Linked DNA regions of Homo sapiens: all the other regions are linked to region 5. The links are contacts of gene promoters, found by promoter capture Hi-C in blood cells and fetal thymus (Javierre and others, 2016). All regions are on one chromosome and are shown on one strand. The core of a region is centred on a gene start or on the middle of the fragment in contact, and the rest is flanking DNA. Distances in the headings are between cores, read along the strand shown. Region 1 has its middle 66 kb from the start of SNX9. Region 2 has its middle 140 kb from the start of SNX9. Region 3 overlaps LOC107986663 (a long non-coding RNA gene). Region 4 overlaps ZDHHC14 (zDHHC palmitoyltransferase 14). Region 5 holds the start of TMEM242 (transmembrane protein 242). Region 6 overlaps ZDHHC14 (zDHHC palmitoyltransferase 14).

Evidence for each region. The method cuts DNA at HindIII sites, captures the fragments that hold promoters and counts their contacts. A CHiCAGO score of 5 or more calls a contact.
Region 1: a contact is called between a fragment that was not itself captured here and the fragment with the promoter of TMEM242 in region 5, in 6 of 17 cell types (total B cells, naive B cells, naive CD8 T cells and 3 more). The highest score is 6.5, in total B cells.
Region 2: a contact is called between a fragment that was not itself captured here and the fragment with the promoter of TMEM242 in region 5, in 2 of 17 cell types (naive B cells and total B cells). The highest score is 8.5, in naive B cells.
Region 3: a fragment that was not itself captured here is called in contact with the fragment with the promoter of TMEM242 in region 5 in 1 of 17 cell types (naive B cells); the score reaches 5.4 in naive B cells.
Region 4: a contact is called between a fragment that was not itself captured here and the fragment with the promoter of TMEM242 in region 5, in 7 of 17 cell types (megakaryocytes, total CD8 T cells, M0 macrophages and 4 more). The highest score is 7.4, in megakaryocytes.
Region 6: a contact is called between a fragment that was not itself captured here and the fragment with the promoter of TMEM242 in region 5, in 6 of 17 cell types (naive B cells, total B cells, M2 macrophages and 3 more). The highest score is 6.8, in naive B cells.

Annotation. Positions count from the first base shown.
Region 1 is chr6:157,755,325-157,759,788 of GRCh38, forward strand. No RefSeq gene overlaps it. Among named protein-coding and RNA genes, the nearest start is that of SNX9, 66 kb to the right of the region's middle. RefSeq lists a silencer at 1-287. The HindIII fragment of the contact is 2,142 bases long and covers 287-2,428 here.
Region 2 is chr6:157,683,850-157,688,819 of GRCh38, forward strand. No RefSeq gene overlaps it. Among named protein-coding and RNA genes, the nearest start is that of SNX9, 140 kb to the right of the region's middle. The HindIII fragment of the contact is 6,767 bases long and covers 1-4,970 here.
Region 3 is chr6:157,714,205-157,719,283 of GRCh38, forward strand. It overlaps LOC107986663 (a long non-coding RNA gene), which reads left to right. Exons shown (of 3, transcript XR_001744427.2): 3 at 1-185. Among named protein-coding and RNA genes, the nearest start is that of SNX9, 110 kb to the right of the region's middle. The HindIII fragment of the contact is 762 bases long and covers 2,429-3,190 here.
Region 4 is chr6:157,586,229-157,590,744 of GRCh38, forward strand. All of the region lies in intron 2 of ZDHHC14 (zDHHC palmitoyltransferase 14), which reads left to right. Among named protein-coding and RNA genes, the nearest start is that of MIR3692, 59 kb to the left of the region's middle. The HindIII fragment of the contact is 4,116 bases long and covers 626-4,516 here.
Region 5 is chr6:157,321,901-157,326,494 of GRCh38, forward strand. It overlaps TMEM242 (transmembrane protein 242), which reads right to left and starts at 1,619. Exons shown (of 4, transcript NM_018452.6): 1 at 1,512-1,619; 2 at 805-905. The coding sequence starts at 1,599. TMEM242-DT (TMEM242 divergent transcript) reads left to right here and starts at 1,734. Exons shown (of 1, transcript NR_187268.1): 1 at 1,734-2,577. LOC105378076 (a long non-coding RNA gene) reads left to right here and starts at 4,331. Exons shown (of 3, transcript XR_943165.2): 1 at 4,331-4,594. RefSeq lists enhancers at 1,382-1,721, 1,902-2,331. The HindIII fragment of the contact is 1,401 bases long and covers 578-1,978 here.
Region 6 is chr6:157,642,857-157,647,697 of GRCh38, forward strand. It overlaps ZDHHC14 (zDHHC palmitoyltransferase 14), which reads left to right. Exons shown (of 9, transcript NM_024630.3): 6 at 2,881-2,983; 7 at 4,403-4,512. Among named protein-coding and RNA genes, the nearest start is that of MIR3692, 120 kb to the left of the region's middle. RefSeq lists an enhancer at 2,765-3,265. The HindIII fragment of the contact is 1,192 bases long and covers 2,092-3,283 here.

The DNA of each region.
Region 1 (4,464 bases), core at 108-2,607, 430 kb after region 5:
CCCTCTCAGCCATCTCTTTCCTAGTGGCCTCTCTCAGCATCATATGTTAGTCACTCCTCCCTTCCTGGTAGGGAAGAGAATGCCTCCGGGTTAGAAAAACACCAGCTGAGAGTTTATAGACATTTCTCTTTGAACATGTGGAACAACAAAGACTACTGATAGACTGTTGGGCATAATTTTAGAATTTGCCTTATTTTGTCAAAGATTAAAGAAAGAAAAGGCCACTTTCCCACTATTCGATTTAACTCAGTCGGATTATACGGTGACAATGTCACTCACTGATTTAAGCTTGAATGTGAGAGATTTAAAAGCAATGGCTTGAAAGGAGTTGTTTTGCATCTTAAAAGAAACCACGACTTCAGAGTGATTTTGATTTTCCATTCCTACAAAGGAAGAAACGAAGCTAAATGCTTTTAATCCTAAAAGTGCCCTTTCAGAATTTCTGGGATCACGGTTGCAAGGCAGAAGTGGAGAACTACCCATTGGATGCCTCTCCAGGAGTCACATCTGTCTCCTCAGACTTTGATCTTCTCAGACATTGCTGGAGAGGCAGGGACAGAAAGTTCAGATGCTACGGAAAGACAGTGTGGGTCAGACCACACAGTGTTCCTTTGAAACTCCTGGCTTACTGGCTTTCCCCCACCCACCCATCAAGTGTGTCCTTTGAGGTGAGACATAACATCAGCTGACTAACAAGATGTTTGCCAGTAATCACATCTGATGACAGTAAATGTCAGTCTCCCAACACAATTTCTATTTTATTTCATTAATACCATCCTCAGTGGTTTGCTTGAAAGGGTTAAATTAGCTAGGCATGGTGGCTCATGCCTGTAATCCCTACACTTTGGGAGGCTGAGGTAAGCAGATCACTTGAGGTCAGGAGTTCAAGACCAGCCTGGGCAACATGGTGAAACCCTGTCTCTACAAAAAATACAAAAATTGGCTGGGCGTGGTGGCAAGTGCCTGTAGACCCAAGTACTTGGGGGGCTGAGGCAGGAGGATTGCTTGAACCCAGGAGGTGGAGGTTGCAGTGAGCTGTGATTGTTCCTCTGCACTCTGCACTCTAGCTGGGCAACAGAGTGAGACTCTGTCTAAAAAAAAAAAAAGAGTTAAATTGGAAAATGTATGTCTTGGTGCTCTGTAAATTGCGAAGCTCTACATAAGTATGATTCCCTGTCTTTATAAATTTGCAATCTGGTGTGCCATGTCTGGGGACAATAACTCCTTCATTGCTCCAGGCACAGAGTTCTGGATTGAGGTCCTGGCTTCTGCTTCTCCAAGATTATCCAAATTTCTTGCTCCTTGAAGGTGGACTTTGAGGACCAGCATCACTTGTGTACCCCATAGCTTCTAATGCAGCAAGCAGGGAATAGACACTCCAGCAAGCAAGTGAATAAGCAAAGAAAACCAGGCCCCCGAGACGCAGGCGGATCCCCAGGCGGATCCCCAGAGGCAACAGAGTCAAATATGCGGGAAAGAATCTGATTCCGGCCAGCAGAGGGCAGGAGCGAGAGGAAACTGGGCATCTCAGCAACAAAGCAGGCTGTGCCAACCTGCGGCCGAGGGCCAGATCGCAAGCCCCGGTGCAGAGAGGACGCCGGGAGAATCCAGCTAATTCTGACAGCCTTTCCCTTGGACTTTAGCTGTAATGTGTGTGTGTTCCATTATCTCACACATCACTGCACTGAATTCCACTTCAACTTCCACCCCCTCCCCCCACCAGGAGCTGGCAGTTAAGATATTTACCAAGATGGTGCTGCCTCTCTAGTAAAACTCAGGAGGATTAAAATAATAATAAACAAACCGAGAGAGGGAGTCCAGAAAAGTGGACTAGGAAGCACAACACAGAAGCAGCTTCAGCACTGGAAAATATTCAGTCGTAAGAATCACCATGCATTCCCTCAGTGCTTGGCAGCCACTTTCTCACTTGAGCCCCATACTCTTTGTATGAGGTATGGGGTGGCTACTTGTGGAGTGCTGTGTCTAAGTCACCCTGCATGGGAGAGGCAGCACCAGGATTCTAACTCAGGATCCTGGGGCCTTATCCACGGCACTCTGTTACCGGGGACACGCTCATTCACTCAACAAACCTTCACGGACTGCCCATCAGTTCTTGTGCCAGGTATACAGAAGGGAAGGACACGGTCCTGTCCTCCAAGAGCTCATCCTCCAAAAGAGCATGGATACTAATAAACAGTCACAGTTTGGTATGACATGGCCATGACAGAGAAGAGTCACCCAACGCAAACTGGGAGGGCCAGTGAACATTTCCAGGAGGAAGTGACAGAAGTTGCCCTGCTGATGACCTCAGTGGCACCATTCATTTTATCACTATGTACCAGAAAATTGTCATAATCTACAGTGACCTCAGATGTGCACAGGGCACCCTCCACCTCTTTGCAATGCCCCTTGCACAGCCATACTGGGAAGCTTGCAGCTGAACCAAGCTTTGAAGGATGACTAGGAGCAGGCAATCAAAGAAAGGAATAGGGGCTAGGGCTGGCGTCGGGTGGAGGGATTCTGGGTGAAGGGGTTGGCACCAGCATAGGGGGTAGGCCTGAGAAATGTCCCCACAGCTGGAGCGTAGGTCTCAGGAGGAATGGTAACAAGAAGACTAAGAAGCAGATGGGGAGGCCAGGAGTTTGAGGAGCTTGGGCAACATAGCAGGACCTCGTCTCCACAAAAAGAAATTAAAAATTAGCCGGCCATGGTGGTGCATGCCTGTAGTCCCACTTACTCAGGAGGCTGAGGCAGGAGGATCACTTGAGCCCAGGAGTTCAAAGTTACAGTGAGGTGTGATCTCACTGCTGCACTCCAGCCTCCAAGGTCTTCAGAGCAAGACCCTATCAAAAAAGAAAAGAAAAGAAAGAAGAAAGGAAGGAAGGAAAGAAGGAAAGAGAAAGAGAGAAAGAAAGAAAGAAAAAAGAGAGGAAGGAAGGAAAAAGAAAAGAAAGAAAAAAGAAGCAGATGAGGCCAGGTCACCTAAAAGGCCTTTTCTACCATGCCAAGGAGGCTAGATGTTACATGGAATGCTATGAGGGTCTTTGGGAGAATATTATACAGGGAAATGGCAATATCATAAATGTGATTTCAGAAATATCATTACTCTAGCAGCATGGAGAATGGATTCGAGAGCGGCAAGTCTGGGGATAGGAGAGCAGTGAGGAGCTTCCCGATGATCCCAGAGCAAAATGACAAGGGCCTGGGGAAAAGACACTCTTGGTGGGGGCAGAGGAAGGGGAGGCTTCCGGAGTTGGGCAGGAAGAAGAACAGATCAAATCTACCAACTAAACAATGGTAAGTGGGAGAGGTCAGGGGTAAGGATGACTGAAGGCTCTGGCTGGGGTCACTGGGCACATGGTGACACCATGTCCCCTGGATAAGCCCCATGAGGGTGGGACTGTGGCTGAGTCACAGCTGTATGGTCAGCACGTGTAGTGACTAGCAGGTAATGGGTGTCTGAGAAGTATTTATGGGGTGAACGCTAGCATGGATGCCTGCGTGAGCAAGACAGGTAGGGATGATGGAACCTGTTGAGTAGGAGACGCCTGAGAGATGGTCACAGGAAGCTGTGCAGCAGGAAGTTGCACAGATGAGACCTGAGTTCAACAGGGAGACCTGAACTGAAGGCAGGGATCTGGGAAGCAGCGGCATTCACGTTCCCAGTGAGGACAGTGGAAGAAGACCTCAGGTCCTGAAAAACACCAACAGCTGAAGGGCCAGCAGAGGAACCTGTGCCCTCAGAGAAGGTTTAAAATCATAGCAAGGAACAATGATGGTGTTGAGAGTTTCAAAAGACAGGAGTCTCTGGGAGGCCAAGTAGAATAAGGAGTGAAATTTACCTATTGAATTTGGCAACCTGGACGTCAGAAGTCACACGGCCCTGGCTGGTAGGAATTCTGAGTCATGCAGGCTGCGGGCAGGGGACCATGACATCTAGCTGAAGCCATGCAAAGATGGGGCCTGAGAGCCAAACCAGGCTGTGACATGCTAGAGCTGGCCCTGATGGGCCCAGGAGCACTCATGGTTAAATTTTCAGGAAATTTGCAAGCTGGTTGTTAAACACAGCCATTATTAAAAATTAAATGGGTCAGGCGCAGTGGTTTATGCCTGTAATCCCAACACTTTGGGAGGCTGAGGCTGGTGGATCACTTGAGGTCAGGAGTTTGAGGTCAGCATGGCCAATATGGTGAAACCCTGTCTCTAGTAAAAATACAAAAATTAGCTGGGCATGGTGGCGGGCGCCTGTAGTCCCAGCTACTCAAGAGGCTGAGGTGTGAGCTTTGAGTCCAGGTGGTTGAGGCTGAAGTGAGCCATGATCATGCCACTGCACTCTAGCCTGGGCAACAGAGGGAGACCCTGTCTCCAAATAAATATAGAAATAAATAAGAAAAATAAATAAAAGTTTAATGATATAAACTTACAAATTGAATAGATTATACTAAAAACAAAAGTAATAAACAC
Region 2 (4,970 bases), core at 1,457-3,956, 360 kb after region 5:
AATGCCAAATAGGGTTCACCATGTGCCTGGATAACAACCGCAGGTCGGCAGTGCTGAGGCCACGGTGAGGCCCTGTCAGCTGATGCTCTGCTACCTATCAGGACTCCTGGTTCCTTGCCTTCTGCAGCTGTCCTCCTAAGATCTAGGTGAACATTGACTTTATGCAATAAAACGCAATCCCAGAGCATGATGAGCGGTAACTGAACGTGTAAATGTGAAGGGCCCTTTTATGAAGCACAGAAACCACCTCCAGTTCACCTGCAACGCTGTTGTGGATCTCTCTGCCTGTCCCCCAGGCTTCTCAAGGCACCCCTCCCTTCCATAACATACAGGATGTTAACTAGGAACCTCATGAAAGGGAGCCGGTCACCTCTGGACATGTCGGCTCCCCTGTGATGGGAACTTCCTCCTGACCAATGGGGTTCTGTATGTTCTCAGGAACTGACACGTGAGCTTCCAGCTGATGTGGCTGAATTCTGCATTATTAATTTCTGCATTATTAGAAATTCTGCATGATCAGAAAGAAGGGACTGGCATTCATTCCCACCAAACACCTCCTTGTCAGTTCATCCTGCTCAGCATCTGCTCTGAGAGGTCTTCCGCAGGCCCCTTCTTCAGCACCCGTCACCTGCCAGGGAGGAGACGAGTCGCTTGGAAGTGTTTAGGGGGATGGTGCTTTTTCTAAGAGGGGAGCAGAAGAGCTTTTTCTTTTTTTTAACAGAATCTGCTTCCATTTTTGTAACCCATGGTAACAAGCTGAACTACATTCAACGCTCAGTGTTTTATGTAAAAGCCAATGAGTGCCCATATAACCCACAAGAAGACACCAGATATGATCTGCCTCTAGACTGGATGCTGAGGCGGTTTGCAGCAGCAAGCGAGGATGAGGGTGCCCTGGAGCAGAGGCAGGGGAGCAGCAAAGCCAGGACCATGCCCTCAAGTCACCCCAGACTGAGCAATCTCCGCCATGGGGCGCAGGCATACCCTGGGAATCCCACGTGGAGAGTTGCTCCTGACTCACAGGCCTGGGCCACCCCTGACCACGATGGGGAGGATAAGCAGTGATGCCCTCATGTGAATATCTCAGGGTTTTGACATTTTTATTCTAAGAAATAAAAGGAGAAAACTCCCTGCTTAGTCGAGTCACAGAAAGAGCATAATGACTTCTGCACATGCCCATGATCTGTAGACCTCAGCCCAGCCGGCCCTGGCTCTGGATGCTCACACAGGAATCTTGTTCAAGGTCCCTCCAGTGGCAGGAAATCGCTTTAAAGACCACCTAACTGGGTGTCCCACCTCAGATCCATGCCCTCCACGGGTCATAAAACCAGTGTAGTGGGCGCAAACCACTGTCTTCTTTCTAGATAGAAGGGGTGAGAACAGAAGGATGAGAATAGGAAATGCCAAACTGCTTTGCCTGGAACAAGGAGAAACAGGTCCTGGGTCATGACATAGATATATTTTCTTATCATGGTCAAAAAGAAAATCTGAAAAAACTGTTCAGTTCACCCATTCCTGCCCCAGCTTACAAAAGAGAACCCTGGAAACCAGAGAGCTGAGAGGTCATATCCAAGGTCACAGAGGTGGCCGGGACAGAGATGGCACAGAGTGGAGGTCAGCCCTTCTCGAACCATGAGTGATAAAGAACAGTGTTCACTGTTTTAAAAAATTCCTATTCATTGCACATTAGTACTTGTATAAAATATAATTTTTAAATTACTGGGGAAAAAATTTAAATAGGTAACGAAAAGTCCCACTGTTTCATGATTAGATGTATTAGACATACTCTGTCCAATTGCCGTAGCTGTTTCTAAACACATACGCCATCTCTGTATTATCTCATCGGGGACCAGGATCAAACAGTTGCATGGTGCCGAGCTGCACTTGCTTTGAGTAGCCTCGTGTGCAGTGGAGGATTAACCGTGTCCTTAGAGAGGACTGGCTTCTGTCCTCTGCTAGTCATCTTTAAGCCCTTGCAACTGTCTGTGTGGTAAGAGTCTCTCTGCTTATCTGGGGGGTTGGACCGGCCAGGCAGTCTGTGCTGGCCATGTGGGTTATGGCCCCAAGGATCAGCTTGGTCTCTGGAGGGGCTGCAGGCCCAGGCCAGTGGTAGAGATAGCCAACCTGTCCCCATGACCCACCCCAATGAAAACTCCAGGCCTGAGGCTTGGGTGAGCTTTTCTGGTTGGCACTATTCCATGCCTGTTGTCTCATCATTGCAGGCAGAGATGGGCCCTGTCCACACAGCCCCTCTGAGAAAGGACAGCCAGAGGCTCTGCACCGGCATCTCAGACTCCACCCTGTGTGCCTCTTGCTTTGGTTGACTTTGATCTGGATAACTTTCACCGTAATAGAACTGCACATAGAAAGGCTCTTCGGAGTTCTGTGAGTCCTACTAGCCAATCATCAAACTGAGGGTGGTTGTGGGGAGCCCCAACCTTACACTGGGTGTCAGAATTGAGGGTGGCCTTGGGGACTCCTGAACTTTGCACCCTGGTACAGGCAACTGCTCCCAAACTGTGTTCTGAGGGTCCCCTAATGATTCCCCAAATCTGTCATCTCTCCCACCCACAAGCCAGAGCCTCTAAAATGCTGTGGTGCAGACACTGAGGGTCTTGCTCGTAGAGAAGCATGTTATCTGAGGGCTGGGGGGTCGCCAGACATTACAACTTTAGCAACCTTTTTAAAAAATGGTATCAACCAGCAAAGAGCAAGAAGCAGAGGGCAAGTAGGTCTTAGTAGGAAAATGAAGAACAGCTGACAGGATAAATCACTGTAAACATAAAGCTAATTCCCTTAAGTGCCATTCTAGACCTAGACCAATTTGTTAGCTTAAAAAAAAAAAAAAAGAGAGAAGAAAACATGGCTTATACTTTGGTTTGCTCTGAACACTGGCAAATTTAACATACTCAGAAATATTTAAAATTAGGAGTAATAAAGAGAGTTGTTTGGGATTTTTCCTCCTAATTTTCTAGGGAAAATGATAAAATCCTTAGCTAAAGAAATACATTGTTGTCTTTGGGAGGCTGAGGCAGGCGGATCACAAGGTCAAGAGATCCAGACCATCCCAGCCAACATGGTGAAACCCCGTCTCTACTAAGAATACGAAAAAGGCTGGGTGCGGTGGCTCACGCCTGTAATCCCAGCACTTTGGGAGGCCGAGGTGGGCAGATCACGAGTTCAGGAGATCGAGACCATCCTGGCCAACATGATGAAACCCCATCTCTACTAAAAAAATACAAAAAATTAGCTGGGCGTGGTGGCGGGCGCCTGTAGTCCCAGCTACTCAGGAGCCTGAGGCAGGAGAATGGCGTGAACCCAGGAGGCGGAGGTTGCAGTGAGCCGAGATCGCGCCACTGCACTCCAGCCTTGGCGACAGAGGGAGACTCCGTCTCAAAAAAAAAAAAAAAAAAAAAAAAAAAGCTACAAAAAATGGCTGGGCATGGTGGTGTGTGCCTGTAGTCCCAGCTACTTGGGAGGCTGAGGCAGGAGAATCACTTGAACCCAGGAGGCAGAGGTTGCAGTGAGCCGAGATCACGCCACTGCACTCCAGCCTAGGTGATAGAGGGAGACTCTGTCTCAAAAAAGAAAGAAAGAGAGAGAGGGAGGAAGGAAGGAAGGAAGGAAGGAAGGGAGGGAGGGAGGGAGGGAGGGAAAGAAAGAAGGAAATAAAGACATTGTTGCTGAAAAATTTCAAGAGGTGTTGCAGGCTTCAGCAATGTAAGATGTTAACTAAGAGCAAGAAGCAGAGGTGCTTGGGTTTGGGTAAAACCCTGAGCTTGGAGTGGGGGAGGGAGGCGGTCCTGCAGCCTGCTAGGTGTGGGAGCCACACATCCATTCTCTCAACACCACTTCTTGAAAACCGCTCTTGTCTTCTCATTGTTTGAAGACATGGCGGATTGCTTGGTTGTGAACTAAGAGCTAAGCCACACTCAGTGGAGGAAGCCTCGGAACCCTGTGGTTGTGCACACCCAGGAGACCTGTGTGGACACCTGTGTGGCTCCCCTTGCATAAGGAATTGTTTCCAACTCAGGTTCTTCAGGATCTGAAAACTACTGTCGTGAAGGTCACGTGCCAACAACAAGAAACCAGGGACATCCTGTAGGATATGAATGGGCAGTGAGGCGGGACCGCAGGGGGCATTTCAGAACTCCCCACATGACAAGGAAGTAGCTTCTGTGGGCCCCGATCTCCATCACTCTCGGCTTCTCCCACCTCCCCTGTGCCCAAGCCTGTTGGCAGCAGAGCGGAGGCGATGCCTCCAACGTCCTTCAAAGCAGCAGGTCTCAAATGTTGGGGCATGAGAATCACCCGGAGGACTGGAGAGAACACAGGTTGCTGGGCCCACCCACAGAGTTTCTGATTCATAGGTTTGGGATGAGGCCTGAGAATGTGCATTTCTAATACGGCTCCAGGTGAAATCGATGGCACAGGTTTGGGAACATACTTTGAGAACCACCGCTATAAAGAGTGGCAGGTTGGTCTGTTTCCGTGGACAGGGAAAGAGACGGCAGGTAGTCAGAGTGATGGAGTCCCTGGGAAGAGGAGGAAGACAAGGGGGATGGATGCCAAGGCCACTTACATCCATCACCACGTCAGGGCTTTGCACCGAGGTTGTGTAACTGTTGGCCTAGCCAGACCTCACCATGGGGAAACCAAGCAGGAGGAAGACTCCACTTCTCTGTCTTTCTCAGTGGGTACTGAGTAACACAGTGGGCCACGTGTTGGCCAGGTGCTGAGAATCCACAGGTGAACCTGACCCTGTCCCAGACTCCTGACTCCTCAAGGAGCTAAACAGCCTTCAAATTAAAAAGCCTCAAATCAGCAGATAACCCAACAGCGACCAGTTGATACTCAGGCAGCAGTCAGCCCGTCGGCGAGTGCTGGAAACGCAGGATTTACACTGATGACGTACACAGTGTGTGCCACTTGGGCCTGGGAGGATTGACAGCACGGTCACAGACGGTCAT
Region 3 (5,079 bases), core at 1,560-4,059, 390 kb after region 5:
CAGAGGGAGCCCTAAGCAACCAGCATCCCAAATGACCACAGATGTCTGCTTCCTGCCTGAGTGAATTTTCCTTTCTCAGAAATGCAATACCTCATTGACTTGTATTATCTTTGGAATGACAATGGCCTAACTAATTGGGAATGCGTGACTTCAATAAACAGTTTCACCAACTGCTCTTTCTAAAACTGTTTTCCAGGTCAACTAGTGTGTGAGAAGCAGTTAATGCTTTGAGTTTTAGGAGAGAACAGGTCCTCTTCATTCTCTGCCCTAAGGTATCTGCCAACATCTCGTAAATCCAGGCTCACATGATAGCCTGGGCCCTAGGATGACCACGGGAATTTATCCCTTGTGTCTACACTGATGGATGTTGGTAATTTTCTGGAATATTGGGCTGAGAGGCATTCTGAGGCCACACCAGAAAGAGCCCTGTGTGTCATTCACAATGTCTGCCATGTGCAGAGGAGAGAAACGGCACAGATGCCACACACTGGATATCCCAAGGCGAAGTGGCCTTCCATATATACCATATATATTCCAAGGTCAAGAAGCAGGTACTGGCCAGGCACAGTGGCTCACGCCTGTAATCCTAGCACTTTGGGAGGCTGAGGCAGGTGGATTTCCTGGGCTCAGAAGTTCGAGACCAGCCTGGGCAACATGGTGAAACCCCATCTCTACTAAAATACAAAAAATTAGCTGGGAGTGGCAGTGTGCACCTGTAGTTCCACCCACTCAGGAGGCTGAGGCAGGAGAATTGCTAGAACCCGGGAGGCAGAGGTTGCAGTGAGCCGAGATTGTGCCACTGCACTCCAGCCTGGGCGACAGAGTGAGACTCCGTCTCTTAAAAAAAAAAAAAAGAAGAAGAAGAAGCAGGTATCTATCTACCAGAAGGACACAGAGTCCCATAGAACCACGCCCTTACCCAGGCTGAAAGAATTGCGGCCGTGAATAAACATTTCCCCTCCCTATGCCTTCCTCACGCTCAGGGACACAATCAAGAACATTTTTCTGAATTAAGCGTTCTTTCTAATTGGATACTGATGGCATAAAGAATGTCAGTTTGGGCTGGGCACAGTGACGCATGCCTGTAATCCCAGCACTTTGGGAGGCCAAGGTGGGTGGATCACATGAGCTCAGGAGTTCAAGACCAGCCTGGGAAACATAGTGAGACCTTGTCTCTACCAAAAATCAAAAGAATTAGCCAGGTGTGGCACACACCTATAGTCCCAGCTCCTTGGGAGGCTGAGGTGGGAGGATTGCTTGAGCTGGGGAGATTGAGGCTATAGTGATGTATCACTGCTATAATCAAGGCTGTAATGATCACGCCATTGCACTCTAGCCAGGGTGACAGAGTGAGACCCTGCCTCAAAAAAAAAAAAAAAAAGAGTAAAGAAAAGAAAAAAAAAAGAAAAGGGATATCAGTTTTATCTGTGTGTGTTTTTGTTATTCTCTTTTATAAAGATTTGGGATACGTGGCCTATAAAAAGAAAAAAAAATCAAGATAAAGCCTAAAAAGTAGGCATTTTGGCTCCTCTGTGTATTTGCCATGGGTTTCATCTGAGAGAAAAGCTCAAATTACATTAAACTCATGCGTAATTTGATGGTGTGCAAACCAAGGAATGAAGAAATCTTGCAACACAGTTTTGTTTTCCAGGGCTGAGTTTCCCAAACAGTGAATTAGAGCAACCCTCATGACGAAATTGGTCAGCCCTGGAATCCCAGCTGATCTGACCCAGGCTCTGCAGGGAGAAGCCTGGCCTCGGAGCAGCAGGGGCGAGGCTCTTTTCTTGCAGCCTGGAAAATAGCCCCACCCAGTCAAAGAACTAGTGAGCCATTTCCCCAAAAAAGGATCCCAGGCTCTCCCCAGTCAGAAGCTTAACTGAAGCCAGAGCTGGGTGGACCCTCGCCCACCAGGAATAGCGGCTATAATGACAAGGGTCATTGTGTGTTTTGCTGCTTAATGAAGCAGAGACATTCCTCAGGCATTTTGTCCTGGACACAGGTAGGAAGGAGGGAAGGCAAGGTAAGAAGAAGGTGGCTAAGGCTGCCTCCAACCCAGACACTAGGAAACATGGGGGAAGAGAGCAGGGGACCCAAATGTTTAAAAAACCATCATGCCGGCCATCACGTTTTAAGCAACTACTTAAGGCCAGGGCTGTCTTAGGTTCTTTTTTCATTTATAGTCACAATAGCCCTAGGTCCACTGGATGGACAAGAAAGCTGTGGCTGCAAGACTGATGCTGCTTGCCCAGGTCTCACACCTGGAGTGGCAGGGCTGGGCTCATGTTGAGGCAGCCACGTTCTTCCTGTGGCACTGGGAGGCGAGCCGTTGTCTGCTACGGGGAGACCAGCAAGAGAGAAGTGGTCAAGGTCTTTTCACAAGGAGGGAGGGATGCTTTTAGCATGAGCGATTTTACTTTGAAAATGTTCAAGCTTATATGGTTTTCTAGGGAGGTGTTTTGTTTTGTTTTTTTCTTAGTGCATTACATTCTAAATTCAATGCCCTGGAAGATACTGAATAGATGGGACAAAATCCATTAGGCTGGATGATTTATGGCTTTTCAGCATTTAGCAGGAGTGGCTTTCAATGTGAAATTGGTTGCGTGCAGCAAACCATTTTAGAAATTTGTCTCACGTTGCCCATAAGTGATTCATGCCATGCTTCCCATGCCTCTTTTTGGGAAAAGGGGAAACAATATCAACACAAAGCAAATTCAGTGTCCAGTACCTCTGTCCTTTGCGAACCCCTGCTCAGCAATCCCATGCCCGTCTGTCATCTCCGCACTTGCTGGGCTGCATTTTACTGGCCAAACAGCAATGGCTGTGACACCTGATCCATCTAGCCAGCGTTCGTCCCTTGGTTTTTTTGGTGTTTGTTTGTTTGTTTTGAGACAGGGTCTTGCTCTGTCACCGAGGCTGGAGTGCAGTGGTGCGATCATAGCTCACTGAAGCCGCAAACTCCTGGCTCAACAATCCTCCCATCTCAGTCCCCCAAGTAGCTGGGACTACAAGCATGCACCACCACACCAGCTAATTTTCATTTTTTGTAGAGATGAGGGTCTGGCTGTATTCCCCAGCCTGGTCTAGAACTCTTGGGCCTCAGACTCCCAAAGTGCTGCTATTACAAGTGTGATCCACCCCACCCAGCCTAGCTAAGTTACTCTTTATCATTCCTGCTCCTTTAAGTGAAAGAAGCTTGTGCTCGGCTGGCCCGCCCTGCTCGGGTCAGAGTGCATGCCTGCTCTACCTCTCTTCCAGCCTGAGGAGGGAGAAGTACCCCCTTCTCCCACACCACAGTGCCCACCCCCTGCTCAGAGCCATGGCTCCACCCTTATTTTATTTACTGCCTGGTGCTCACTAGGTAGGAAGCATCCAGAAGGAAACCAGGTTGTAAGGAACAGTCTTGCCTCTGCAGCTCCTAACACCAAGGTCTTACGCACAGGAAGTGCTCCATAAATGTTTTCTTGAAAAAGTAGGTCACGTGCAAGGAACTGAGGCTGAGCCGGGCGTGTTTAAGGATGGGCCTTCAAAGCATAGCTATAGAAATGCCACTCAGGTTTGGCATGAGCCTCTTATTTTTTTCAAAGTCTTTTTTAGTTTTATTAAATGTTTTATTTTTATGGATTTAGGGGTACAAATGCAGTTGTTTTACATGAATATATTGCACAGTGGTGAAATCGGGGCTTTCAGTATGCTCATTACCCAAATAGTGTACAATGAACCCAAGAGGTGATCCCTCACCCCTCCCACCTGCCCACCATTTGGAGTCTCCAGTGTCTATTATTTCCCTCTGTATGTCTGGGGGTACCTACATATAAGTAAGAAAGTGAAGTTTTGGATTTTCTGTTTCTGGGCCATTTCACTAAGGATAATGGCCCCCAGTTCTATCCATGTTGCTGCAAAAGACAATATTGCATTCTTTTTTATGGCTGAGTTGTATTCCATGATGTATGTATGTACCACTTTTTAATCCAATCATCTGGTGATGGGCACTTGGGTTGATTCCAGGACTTCGCTATTGTGAATACTGCTACAGCTGACAGTCCAGGTGTCTTTTTTATATAATGATTTATTTTCCTTCAGGTATATAACAACCAGTAGTAGGATTGCCAGATCCAAGGGTAGTTCTATTTTTCCTTCTTTGAGAACTCTCCAATTTTCCACAGAGGTTGTACTAACTTCCATTCTCACCAACAGTGTATGAGCGTTTCATTTTTCCCACATCCTTTGGGGTCCTCTTTGAGCTCAGATCCTATATCCCTCTTTCTCTATGCATTCTAAAAAGACACCATGGCAAGAAACATATAACAGGCTTTATCAGCATAGAGAAATTATCCATCTATGGTGAGTGTAGAAGTCTTGAATTAAAAAATAAAAGCTAGATTGGTTTGGTGTAATTCATCCTAGACATGTGTGGCCAACTACTTTACGGAACAAGTGAAACAAACATGAAATTGCTTTATTTTTCTCATAAACGTCTAGTCCCTTAGGGATCCTATTCTGATTCCATCTCTTGGATGACACAGGGTTTTTTTTTTTTCAAAGTCTTGTCCAATCCATTTTAATTCACTTCCATTGCACATCCTCACCTCCTAGCAGAAGGAGTAGTAGGTCCCAGCCTCAGAGCCTTGGTTTGCAGAGGGGTGAGAGTCTCTGCCCAACTCCTTCTTCCTCCTCTCTTTTCTCCAATGTGCTGTGAAGGGAAGAAGGGAGGCAGAGGAGATCAAAGTCTTTATTCACGCAGTGCCACTGGGGACTTCCCTTGGCCATTGTTGCCTGCTGGGTGGCGGGCCCTTTCTGTGGAAGTTTCTTAGGGGCCTCCCCAGCCACAACTCCCTGATGAGGCAGTGTGCTCTGGCCCGGCCCACTCTGACCCCATGCCCAGGTCCTGCCCGCAGGGTGCATCCCACTGCAGGGTGCCTCTTGCTCCCAGGATAATGGCAGAAAAGCTCCCGAACCTCCCAGAATGTCCTCAACCCACCATTGTGCTCACTTCTAGGTGAGAGCGCAGTGGCTTAACCATGGACCCATCCTCTGCCATGTCAGGTGGGCACCCCTGGAATGATAATAAAATAAGGTTTA
Region 4 (4,516 bases), core at 1,434-3,933, 270 kb after region 5:
GGCTGGATAAATAAAACAAGGCAGGCGCAGTGAGAGCCCAAAGGAGGAAACAAGTAACTCTGCTTGCAAAGTGTTTTCACAAGAGAAGCTGGAACTGGCCCTCAAAGGATAGGATTATCTGCGCAGACAGCAGGAGAGGGAATCCCGAGCAGAGAAAATATCACGTGCAAATGCCTGGAAGTAGAAAACAGCATTGCCCGCTCAGGGAAACCCAAGGAGGCCACCGTGTTTTGAGCATAGGCTCCATGGAAGATCGTGCAAGGAGAGAGAAGGTTCATGGATTGTGTGCTGTATGGGAGGGCCTGAGTTTCTTGATGGGACTTGCATTTAGAAAGCTGACTCTTTAAGGGCCAGGAGAACAGATCAGATCAGAATGGGTGGCAAGACGGGCTCAAGACTTGCTGTGCTCATCAGACAGCCCAGCAGAGCCCTCCCAGGACCCCAGCGGCCCTCGGCAACCCCTGGTGCAGCACCGGCTTATAGTAAATCCTTCATAAATATTGGTTGACTTTTTTCATGGCATCGCTGGGCCCTGAATCCAGGTCTTCTGATCCTTCCATTTCTTTTACATAAAGAGCTCTCCAAATATTTAGTCAAAGAGTTTTGGGTTTCGGTTTAATTCTTAAGCTTCAGTTTACTATGTCTTTTGAATTCTAGCTTTCAGCATTTCACCTCTTTGTAACAGAGGTTCAATCTTTTAAAAAATGCACTTTGGAACTAAAGATCAATAGAGTTTATCTTCAGGAGTGTCAGCAAATACTCACTTTATCAAGTCATTGCTACTCAGAACTAGGCTATTTAAATAGTTGTAGTGTTGATACGTTTGTCATTCCTGCATTTTAAAATATTCACCTTCACAATTCAGTTTCTAAACTTTTCTACTGAAATTAACACAAATGTTTGACTGAGTTCGTATTTTATAAAAAGATATCAGGTCTAGTTTTTCTACCCATGTTTGCAGGAGTAAATAGAGGCAATAGATTTCACAGCTGACATTAGGATTATTATTAATCTAGGCCTCAGTGGCACCCAGCTGGCACCCATAGAGACCTGACCTTATCTTTGATGGATTCAAAGCCAGTGATTTCTATCCAGTGCTCAGGGGAAGCACACAGCCGTGCCATCTCTTTGTTCTCTCCTTATTGCAGAATCAGTTGCAAGGCCTCCCTCTTCTTAAGGCCCCTGCTTTTGGAGCTCAGCACCTCTCCAGATGCCTGTGACATTAGTGCCATTTGATGGGGCAGCCACCTGGGGTGCCAGGCAGATGTGGCACCTGCCAAAAGAGGGTATCCTGCTTGGCAGGGCAAGGCCACCCAGAGTCCTTGGACTGGCTCCACAGCTGTTCAGTTATTCTAAGCAGAAGGTTTGGGCCTCAGGAAGAGAGAAGTAGGAGACCTGCTTCTTCCTCCTGCCATTGCCCCGCCCTGCCCTCCACACTGCCTGCTCTCCCTCGAACCTGGAACTTTAATTTTCCATGAATAATTCATGGCCAGTAGCAGTTCAAAGCACTCTCCTTAACTCTGGGATTGTACTTTCACAAACACCAAAGCCTTAGGCTAAAGGGCTATAGCAGCTTTCCAGACCTCTGACAGCCATTTAAAGAAGACCAAGGCTGGGCACAGTGGCTCATGCCTGTAACCACTTTGGGAGACCAAGGTAGGAGGATCACTAGCTTGAGGCCAGTTGCTTGAGACCAGCCTGAGCAACATAGTGAGACCTTGTCTCTATAAAAAATTTAAAATTAGGCTGGGTACTGTGACTCATGCCTGTGATCCCAGCACTTTAGGAGGCCAAGGCAGGCGGGCCACCTGAGGTCAGGAGTTTGAGACCAGCCTGGCCAACATATAGTGAAACCCTGTCTCTACTAAAAAAAACACAAAAATTAGCTGGGCGTGGTGGTGCACACCTGTAGTCCCAGCTACTTGGGAAGCTGAGGCAGGAGAATGGCTTGAATCTGGGGAGGCAGAGGTTGCAGTGAGCCAAGATCACGCCACTGCACTCCAGCCTGGGTGACACAGCAAGACTCCATCTCTCAAATAAATAAATATATAAATAAATAAATAATTTAAAAAATTTAAAAATTAGCCAGGCATGGTGGTGAATACCTATAGTCCCAGCAGCTTGGGAGGCTGAGGTGGGAGGATCACCTGAGCCTGGGAGGTCAAGGCTACAGTGAGCTATGATAGCACCACTGCACTCCAGCCAGGGTGACAGAGTGAGACTATTTCTAAAAATTAAAAAATATACATTTTTTAAAGAAGACTGCAGGGAGGGGCATTCCTTTTCGAGCCCCTGAATCATGACATGCGAATCATGGGTACTGTCAGTGAGTGACAGCAGCCCTGCTTGGGGGCAGAATGGCACAGCTCTCCAGATACCCTGAGCTGTTCTAAATCACCAAGTGCTCTGCGTGAAAACGCTTGGGTGTGGGTGTGTTCTGTGATGTGGCCCCTCACCTGACTAAGCTGCGTTCTCTAAGGGTAGCTCTTTATCATACAAGTGAGTGTATTTGAGTACATAATAAAGAGGCACATAGGAATGTGTGGACTGGGGAGTATTTACTGGCACCCCACAGTGGGGTTCTCAAACCTGAAAGTTTCAATCACTGGGGAATCTCGGTGAAATGCAGATTCCCATTCCATAGTTGGGACAAGCCAAGAATCTGCTTATGTGCTAGGCTGTCAGATGATATGGATGCTGGTGGACCACTCTTGGAGCAGGCCTTCTCATCTTTGGCTGCAGATTCCCATCTGTATTAGTCTATTTTCACATTGCTATAAAGAACTACCTGAGGCTGGGTAATTTATAAAGAAAAGAGGTTTTATTGGCTCATGGTTCCACAGGCTGTATAGGAAGCATGGCTGAGGAGGCCTCAGGAAACTTACAATCATGGAGGAAGGAAAAGAGAAAGGAAGGAAAAGAGGAAGGTCTTAAATGGCCAGAGCAGGAGGAAGAGGGTGCAAGGGGAGGTGCTACACCTTTTAAACAATGAGATCTCATGATAACTCACTATCAGAAGAACAGCAAGGGAGAAATCCACCCCCATGATCCAGTAACCTCCCACCAGGCCCCTCCTCTGACATTGGGGATTACAATTCAACATAAGATCTGGGCAGGGATACAAAACCAAACTATATCAACATCTCGGAGGAGTTTTTAGACATCTCAATGCTTGATATGGTTTGGCTGTGTCCCCATCCAAATCTCATCTTGAATTGTGGTTCCCATAATCCCCATGTGTCATGGGAGGGACCCAGTGGGAGGTAATTGAATCATGGGGGTGGTTACCTCCATGCTATTCTCATGATAGTGAGTGAGTTCTCATGAGATATTTGCTTGGCACTTCTCCTTCCTGCTGCCATGTGAAGAAGGATGTGTTTGCTTCCCCTTCTGCCATGATTGTGAGTTTCCTGAGGCCTCCCCAGCCCTTCAGAACTGTGAGTCAATTAAACCTCTTTCCTTTATAAATTACCCAGTCTCAGATATGTCCTTATAGTAGCATGAAAATGGACTAATACAGTATATTGGTATTGGGTAGTGGGGCACTGCTATAAAGATACCTGAAAATGTGGAAGCGACTTTGGAAGTGGGTAACAGGGAGAGGTTGGAACAGTTTGGAAGGCTCAGAAGAAGATAGGAAGATGTGGGAAAGTTTGGAACTTCCTAGAGACTTGTTGAATGGCTTTGACCAAAATGCTGATAGTGATGTGTACAATGAAGTCCAGGCTGAGGTGGTCTCAGACGGAGATGAGAAACTTCTTGGAAACAGGAATAAAGGTGACTCTTGTTATGATATAGCAAAGAGACTGGTGGCATTTTGCCCTGCCCTAGAGATTTGTGGAACTTGAGAGAGATGATTTACGGTACTGGTGGAAGAAATTTCTAAGCAGCAAAGCATTTGAGAGGTGACAGAGCATAAACGTTTGGAAAATTTGTAGCCAGATCATGCAGCAGAAAAGAAAAACCCATTTTCTGGGGAGAAATTCAAGCTGACAGCAGAAATTTACATAAGAAACAAGGAGCTGAATGTTAATCACCAAGACAATGGGGAAAATGTCTCCAGAGCATGTCAGAGACCTTCATGGCAGCCCCTCCCATCACAGGCCCAGAGGTCTAGGAGGAAAAAATGGTTTCCTGGGTCAGGTCCAGGGCCCCCTGCTGTGTGCAGCCTATGGACTCTAACCCAGCCACTCCAGCCATGGTTAAAAGGGGCCAAGGTTCAGCTCAGGCCATGGCTTCAGAGGGTGCAAGCCCCAAGCCTTGGTAGCTTCCATGTGGTGTTGGTCCTGTAGGTGCACAGAAGACAATAATTGAGGTTTGGGAATCTCCACCTAGATTTCAGAGGATGTATGGAAATGCCTGGATGTCTAGGCAGAAGTTTTCTGCAGGGGTGGAACCCTCATGGAGTACCTCTGTTAGGGCAGTGCAGAAGGGAAATGTGGGGTCAGAGCCCCCACATAGAGCCCCCACATAGAGTCCCCACTGGGGCACTGCCTAGTGGAGCTGTGAGAAGAGG
Region 5 (4,594 bases), core at 369-2,868:
AAGGTCCATAGCAGTGATTTAGGAAGCTCCATATAAGCTTAGAGCATTCAGAGGGGATCCAAGCACACTTTAAACATGGTCTCTTGCCATTATGGTATCGATAAGGCTTAAGTATGATTATTAAAGATAAATGTAAGTGGAAAGGAAACTTGACTTTTTATGATGTTTTACGTAACACTTTTCCTCCATAGCACACATCAAATTGTAATTACACAGTTATTTGTGTGAATATTTATTTATTTATTTTTGAGACAGAGTCTCGCTCTGTCACCCAGGTTGAAGTGCAGTGGTGTTATCTGGGCTCACTACAACCTCAGCCTCCTGGGTTCAAGTGATTCTCCTGCCTCAGCCTCCCGAGTAGCTAGGACTACAGGAGTGCCACACCACACCTGGCTCATTTTTGTATTTTTAGTAGAGATGGGTTTTCGCCATGTTGGCCAGGCTGGTCTCAAACTCCTGACCTCAGGTGATCTGCCCCTCTCGGCTTCCCAAAGTGCTGGGATTACAGGCATGAACCACGATGCCTGGCCCAAATTTAGATTCAAAGTCATGTTGTGAATAGGAAATGTACCAGATAAGCTTTCAAAGTCTTGTTCCGCTAAAATTTAAGAAAGCACATAAGTACATCCTTCTAAATGAAAATAAAGACTTGGTTAATTTGTACATTTCTAGAATCCATGAGCGTATATAAATTCACATCTTAAAGCAATGTGAAAGACCATCAATATTTTATTTTTTCTACGCAAAAGCTGCCATATATTGTAAACAATAACAATGCTATGAATGGATTTCAGTGTCACCAACCTTATTGAACCATTCAGGGCTTTTCTTTTTAGCCAATGATAATGTTGTAATAAATCCAGCTAGCATTCCCGCTGCAGCAACGGTACCAAGGAAAATTCCACCTGCCAAGAGTTTCGGGGAGGAGGGGGGATATTAAAAAAAATTAAATAAAAAGAGGTTAAAAAGATGTACAAAAGTAAGTTTAAGATACTATTCGAGTTACAATCAAAATCACTTTTGAAATTCAAGAAACCATGGCTAAGCAGCTCTTGCTAACAGTAAATGACAGCGGCTGAGAAACACGCGTGACCGCACGACCTCTGGTTCCTTGGGTCATTCCGAATTATTATTCCCGAGCGCAGAGAAAAGGTTCAGCTTCCCTTCCCCTCTCCCCTGGGACCACAGCGTGAAGTTTCTCACGGGGAGGAGAAGAGACGATGGCAATCAGAAAAGGCAAGGCTCTAGAACAATTGCAGAGGTGACGGGGAAATATGGCACGCCCGGGAGAATAGCTCGCGGGATCTGCCCCCCGCCCCGCCCAAGGGGAGACTCCACCCAGTAAGCGACCTACCCTCCCTGGGCCGCCAGACTCCGCGGGCTAAACTCAGGGGCAAGCACAAGCTAAGGGCTCTCAGAGCGGGATGTGTGTGGGAATGCCCGCTCCAGAGCAAGCCAGGGTCCGGGGTTAACTCACCCCGACGCCCGCACCTCACCACAGCACATCTTACCTTTAACCAGGAAAAGCCGGTCATTCGTGGACCCCGGAGCCTCCAGCCCAGAGGCCGGCTGCCCAGTTGCAGCGCCCGCTGTCTCCATGTTTAGGTCGCCTCTAGTGCGTCCGTCCCCAACTGGGCCCGGGTGGAAGCGAGAACCAGGCGGAGGAGAAAGGTTCCGCTACCGCCTCCTCCTGTGCAATCTGAAGAAGGGTCCGGAGTGCGGCCGCTGTCCCCAAACCCTCCTCCCGCGCCGGGGCCGGGAAGACGTGCTGTGCCCAGCCCCAGGGGCGATGCCCTCCAAGGCCGTCTCTTAGGGAGGATCTTTTGATTTCTCCAAGGAGATCATTGCTGGACTTAAGTGATTACTTTGGCTGTTTGAAAGAACGCTCAGCCCCGACTGTAGGAGGCAGTGAGGGTCGCAGATTGCGCCAAGATTCCAGGCCCCGCCTGTGAGACCCTGGAGCTCATTTTCCTGATCAAGCTTACATTGTGTCCAACGATTTGGCCAGCGCTAACACTCCACGATTCTAAAACGCAAGCCTAGGTCTTCTGTCTGTACTTTTCTAGGTAACTTCCCAACAGTGTTGAGGAATAAGTGACAGGCTTTCTCCCTGGAGGAGAGCCAGCCACCCGGTTCTGCGGTGACGGGTACCTCCGCCGCGGTGTGAGTGCTCGGCCTCCGTCGGGAAGTGGAACACTCACAGGATGACCGAATGAAAGTACCACCCCCGAAAGGAGAGCGACGCCCGCTGGAAGCGCTTGCAGAGCTGCCGGCAACGTTGACCGCTAGCAAGCTTGGTCTTCCGCTGGGAGGCTGGTTTGCCCATTCTGTAAATGGCCGTGGAGAGGAGGAGGCTAGTGGTGATAGAAAATCTTTTCAGCCTCTCAGAGAACAATGACATCTTGTAAAATAAGGCGGTCTCTCTGCTATTTGTCCTGCCCCCCATCACCGGAGGGCATGAGTTTCCTGAGGATGGAGATGGGACTCTATGTTCAGTTTATATCCCCCAGCTTTCAGATATTAACTGGTTACCAACATCAAATGCATGTTGGATGAATGAGTAAATGAATGCATCCATTTTTGCGTCAGTGAAGTGCAGTTAATAGCTCAAACCTGGGCTCGGGTCCTAAACCGCTTCTCAGGTGTGTGAACTTGGGGTAACTTAGCCCCTCTATAGCTCAGTTTCCTCACCTGTAAAATTTAAAAACTGGTAGTAGGCCAGGCGCGGTGGTTCACGCCTGTAATCCCAGCACTTTGGGAGGCTGAGGCAGGTGGAGATCAGAAGTTCGAGATCAGCCTGGCCAACATGGTGAAACCCCGTTTCTACTAAAAATACAAAAATTAGCGGAGTCTAATGATGCGGGACTGTAATCCCAGCTACTCGGGAGGCTGAGGCAGGAGAATGGCTTGAACCTGGGAGGGAGAGGTTGCAGTGAGCCGAGATCGAGCCGTTGCACTCCAGCCTGGATGACAAGAGTGAAACTCTGCCATCCACCCCATCCCGCCCCCCCCACACACAAAAACTGATAGTACCTAACTCATAGGATTACTGTGAGAATTAAATGAAGCAACATCTATAAAGAAGTTAGCACAGTGCCTGGCACATATAAATATTCAATACATGTTAGCTCTAACTATTACCACCTTTGATTCCAGTAGCTATTTTGCAGCATTGCCTATGGGGATTTTTAAAAATGATGGATTATCAAGGTCTATCTACCACGGGAGATTAGAGCTCTGAAGGCCCGCGGGTGGCAGGGCAGAATGTAAAAGCTCCGTGGGGTTTCTGATGATAAAAAACTACTGCTCTGTTCAAATTTTTGTGTGGATGAGATCACACAGAATGTATGTGACCTTTGGATTTCCTGGAAACACGTCAGTATCTGAAAGGGCTTTTAAGCTGGTAAATGCTGTGCTAATTTGTTGAAGGACCTATCCTTTTTCCTTCCCCTCATACATAACAGTAACCATAGCTGCTAACATGTATTGAGTGCTTTCTATATATCTGACATTGCACTAAGTGCTTCAAGTACATTATCTCATTTATTCCTCTCCATAAACTCAGAAAGACTAACTTGCTCAAGCTCACACAGCTGTTAAGTGGCAGAGACAGGGCTTAAAAGCAGGTCCTTCCTTATCCACTGTGCCAGTCGTCCTCAAGTGTGAACTTGAATATTGGAATCACCTGGAAGGCTTATTGCACTCAGCTTGCTGGGCCCCATTCCCAGAGTCTGTGACTCAGTGGGGGCTGAGAACGTGTATGTCTAAGTTCCCAGGTGATGCTGTTGCCACGGATTCCACTTCGAGAACATCTTCTGTGTGCCTTCCTCTTATGGATTACACCTCTTAAAATCCACACCATACACTTTAGCACTTGGAAATCTGTTTTCCCAAGACTGCTTAGGGAGAAAAAGTGCAGATTCCTCCACTCTCTTCTTTGCTGTCCCCTTAGAAAACGACAGAAACATTTTAAGGATTAAGCTGGGCACAGTGGCTCAAACCTGTAATCCTAGTGCTTTGGGAGGTCGAGGCAGGCAGATCACTTGAGGTCAGGAGTTTGAGACCAGCCTGGCTAACATGGCGAAACCCCATCTCTACTAAAAATATAAAAATTAGCTGGGTGTGGTGGCGGCGCCTGTAATTTCAGCTACTTGGGAGGCTGAGGCAGGAGAATCGCTTCAACCCAGGAGGCAGAGGTTGCAGTGAGCCAAGATCATGCCACTGCACTCCAGCCTGGGTGACAGAGCAAGACTCCGTCTCAAGATGATGATGATGATGATGATAATAATAATAATAATAATTTAAGGTTTATATCACTGCTTACTATAAGGAACAGAAGGGAGATAATAGATCTTGTAATCTAGGGAAATTACAGAGTCCTGCATTCCAGAGCTGGTCTCCATTGAAAGTAACTGCACATCCTAGGAAACTGGTGTCTGCTTTGTTTTGGATGTTGCAGCTCACAAACCTCTATCTTCTTTCTAAATCCCCAAAGTAAAAGGCAATCTTCCTTTTTTCTACTTGAAAGCTTGTTTTCCCAATATACACAGGACTGAAAAGGCAATTGACACAAACCAATGGTTTACACTTCAGC
Region 6 (4,841 bases), core at 1,438-3,937, 320 kb after region 5:
AGTGGATGTGAAAGGGAACAAACCATGTCAGCTGCCACAGGTTCGCGAATCCTGGAGAAGCAGGGGGTTGGGGTAGGTCTAGGGCCACCTGCCCCTTGGCAAGAATTAGGAAGGGGACCAGCCTAAGACTCTTCTGTCATCCCAGCAGAGCAGACTTCCGGCATTCAAGTCCTAGCTCTGCTATTTCTCAAGCAAATTACTTCATTGCTTTCTGCCTCAGTTTCCCTGTGTGTTAAGAGGGAGTCATGCTTCTCCCTGGGTCACTCTGAGGTTTAAGCAGAACAGGACCTGACACACCCCAGTGATGCCAGCCATTGTTATGAATGATGATGCTGACGGTTCCTTGAGACCTCCTGAGTCAGCTGGGTCCCAGGGTGTGGGTAGTGCCAGCAGGCTGCATCTTGCATCTCGCATCCTACTTTGGATTCATGTCATTTTGACACAGCTGCAAGCTGACAGTGGAACTGCATTCTGCAATTTACAAAATGTGTCTAAAGCACATGAGATATTAATAGAAAAGCTGGCCGGGCATGGTGGCTCACACCTGTAATCCCAGCACTTTGGGAGGATCACCTGAGGTCAGGAGTCCGAGACCAGCCTGGCCAACATGGTGAAACCCCGTCTCTACTAAAAATACAAAACTTAGCCATGCATGGTGGTGGGCACCTGTAATCCCAGCTACTCGGGAGGCTGAGGCAGCAGAATCACTTGAACCTGGGAGGCGGAGGTTGCAGTGAGCTGAGATCATGCCACTGTACTCCAGCCTGGGCAACAAAAGCAAAACTTCATCTCAAATATATATATATATATATATATATATGCTGTATTTTTTTATTGTTGCTATAAACCTTTAGAATTCTATATCCGCTGGCTATGATGCCTCCCGATGAGGGTAAGGAGCATAGTTGACATTGTCAAAGGAGCTGCAGCCACTTTCAGTCTGGGATTGTCACTGCTCGTACATGCCAGGTTTCATATGGTTCATACATAGGAATGTTATATGCATTTTGACTTTGCCATCATTCTACCTGGGTCGTAAACTCTTGGTGACACATAAGTATTTCTAGGATTGCAGTTTGGTTCTTCATGTATTATTCAGTAAATAAATCTGGTTCTGTTCTTGATTCTTTTCTACCCTGGCTATTTCTTGTTTCCGTTCCATGTGTCCCCTCCTCTTTCTGTCTCTTGTCTTCCTTGTAGCTGATCCAAACCCATCACTAGTGTCTAATGTCATCTCCCTCTCACACACCCCAGCTTTCCTGACTCAGTCTTCCCACTGGCTCCCGCATTGTGTTCCCTGGACTCTACTTCACCTCTTCTTTCCAGCCAGTGCATGGCCTGAATCCCAGGGGAGTTGCCTCCCAAGTCTGTCCCCTCCTGGCAGGGGGGATGTGGGTGGAGAGAGGGGCCTCTTTAGCCCCGTTCTGTGGGAAGGCAGTTGAGAATGAGACCATCTTTGCTGCCTGGGCCACCATCCATGTGTCCCCATGTGCACACAGAGCCCCCACTGTAGCCATTTGCCCAGCAGGGGTTGCCTAGGCTGGCAGCAGCTGTGGGTAGGGGGTCTGCCTTCCTGTGTCTCTCTGGTTCCCTACCACTCCCCGCTACCGTCTCCTTCTAGAGCAGACCCAGTGGTTTAGTGCGATGTTGAAAGTCAGTCAACAGGCAGAAGCCCATTCACTCCTGTTTTGTGTGCAGCCTTGTATGCCCAGATGGTGGCATCGGTTAACCATGGCACAGCAGACCACGGCACCGCACTGGGTAATGTGCTCAGCCCTCTGGTCTAAAGATGAATTATCTCCAGCCTGGAGAAGATCATCACTGACATGTTCCAGCATGATGTATATGGCATTCATCCTCGGAAACATTAGGAGAGCAGGCGCGTTTCTTTCTCCATCCTGTAATGTATCGATAGCGGATGCCAGATGTATGTGTAAACTCCCAGACCCAGGATGAATGGATTTTTCCCCCTGAGAAATATCTGTATCCTGTAAATAGAATGTTATAAACATTTGTGGGACAGAAAAAGTCTCTGGCCTTTTCACATTGCCACACTCTCGGGTGATGGATCTGATCTGCTGAAGAGCACCAAGCTTTTTCCCTTTGTGTTGGACACGTCTTGTGGAACTCTTGACTTCCTCTCTCTCTATGTCCTGCGAGAACTCGTGGTTCCCAGCTGCCTATCAAGCAGCTGAGGATGGCCTTATAGGTCAGGGGTTGGCTGAAGGGCTGAGAAAACTCCCCCAGGTAAAAATACCCCTCACCCTGACGTCACTCCGAGAAATCCCACCGCCGGTTCAGGGGCTTATTTTTCCTTCTTCCCCTTCTCTGTAAGCAGAGAAGAGGCCGTCCACTAAAGCAGAGGGCTTTCTGGGCCTCAGAAGCCATTCTCCTCAGGGGAGACGCCTGTTGGCACTGCAGTCCTCAGCATTCAGAAGCCAAAATTAGAGTCTGTGATTGATGTGCGAGTCAATATGTCGTCCTTTCACCCAGAGCCTGAGCTGCAGCCAACTCAAACCAGTGTGCTTCCTGATCAGGATGCCACAGTCGCTGGCTCCACAGTGAGGCACAGAAAAAGGTGAAGTTCAAGTAGAAGTCAGAGGAAAGAAGTGAGTAGGTGATGCCCAGGAAACCCTCCAGGCATCACGGAGCCACAGAGGCTGCTCCACGCCGGGGCAGGTGACACCCCCTGCCCTGACGGAGGCCTCCATCTGGTTAGACGAAATTCCCGGAAGAGCAGGAAGCAAGGCAAGGCCGGGTGAGAGAGAGGCCAGCAACTAGAGAGAGGCCTGTGCCCGGGGGTGTTTCGGTTCCAGGCCTCCATCACATCCACTTCTTGCGCGGTCCCTCACTTCCGCTTGCCTCCTTGACTCGCATCACCGTCCTGGAGGCTGTGGTGTGCTTCTTCTCTGTCTGGTCCATCGTTGGCCTCTCAGGATTCCACACCTACTTGATCAGCTCCAACCAGACAACAAATGAGGACGTAAGTTCCTGACCACACGGGACACGGGCGTGTTCTTGGGTTTTGGGCAATGGAGGAGAAAAAGGAAAGAAAAGGTTGAGCCCAGCTTTTCCCATACATCCCGTTCCAGATGTGAGCCCTTGGGAACAGAGACGGTGCCGTGGAAACTTCTCCACCTGCCGTTCTGCACGTTTCTCTTCTGGGAATCTCCACGTTCTCTGTTTTTCCGACCACATCCATTAGTTACTAAGATTGGCCAAGCAACACCCATTTCTGGCCCTGAAGAGAGTGTTCTTTGTATTCCTTTGAAATGGTTTCGTAAGCTTCTTATCACACTTCCCCTGGTAGAGACCATGGCGGGCCAACATCTTGGAGTGAACGTTTGAGTCTGCCTTTCATATTTAATGTCTCTGTGGGAGGAAATTGCCCTGACCCAAAATTTAACTTTTTTATTCAGGATTATCTGCCTGCACTTAATACAGATGGAGAGGAAGTATGAAAATAGGAAACAAGGCCGGGCGCGGTGGCTCATGCCTGTAATCCCAGCACTTCGGGAGGCCGAGGCAGGCGGATCACGAGGTCAGGAGATCGAGGCCATCCCGGCTAACACAGTGAAATCCCGTCTCCACTAAAAATACAAAAAAATGAGCCGGGTGTGGTGGCAGGCGCTTGTAATCCCAGCTATTCAGGAGGCTGAGACCAGAGAATCGCTTGAACCCAGGAGGCAGAGGTTGCAGTGAGCTGAGATAGCGCCACTGCACTCCAGCCTGGGTGACAGAGCGACACTCCATCTCAAAAAAAAAAAAAAAAAAGAGGAAACAAAATGTTAGAGAATGTTTCCAGAGCAGCGTGGTCCTCTTTGCTCTTTATACTTAGATTTTGATAGAAGTCTCTATCCACACTTGAATTAAATGTCTCAGGATAGGTCCAGTTACCTTAAACAAAAGCTTGAGAAAATAGGTTGTGATAAGACACATGAGATAAGAGAATATTAATACAGTTATTTGTACTTGGTAGCTACAAATATTAGAATATGCAAAACAGACCATTTTGGTCACAAGAAGAGGCTGAATTATTTCAGTCTGTAAATTAGCAATTAGGGGAACCATTTCACCTACCATTCATTTAATTATTATTTAGGGCACTAAATGTGAGTATGAAAAAAATCTCTGCTGGCTTATATGAGATGGCCTTTTAGTACCATGTGGTACAAATAAAAGATGACTGTCCCTGAGAATGTTATTCTTTCCCTATTCTAACCTGCTGTTTTAGGACATTTCCAAGTTTGGAGTAAATGCCCGTTTTCTTTAAGAAAAATACCTCCATTTCTTTGGATTAAAGATGATTTGCATTCTTTATGAGCCTCTCATGGTCCAGCTCACCTCAACTGTGCGTTGGTGTGGAAGATATTGCTTGTTACTGACTTTCCTTTTCTTTCAGATTAAAGGATCCTGGTCAAATAAAAGAGGTAAAGAAAATTACAATCCCTACAGCTACGGAAATATCTTTACCAACTGCTGTGTTGCCCTGTGTGGGCCCATCTCACCAAGGTAAGACTCAGGACGCATCGTGCTCTTCAACAGACCTTGGAAAACCGAATGCCTCGGCCGTTAGCACAGGCCGCCCGCCCTGGTGGAATGGGTCGCCGCCACCACGTGACCACTTTGTGCCGCGTGGATGTGGCCTTCGTGAAATCGAGATCTGGCTGTTTGTCGTGTCACACTTCACACCTTTTTTGATCTTCAATTGAATCTGTGTCTGATTGGGGGGAAATTTCCTAAAGCCCAAAATAGAGAGACAGATGCCTGTGGCCCTGCTAATGACTGAGGCCCTGCTAATGACTGAAGGTGCGTGCAGGGAGCTGTGGTTAGCATCGTCA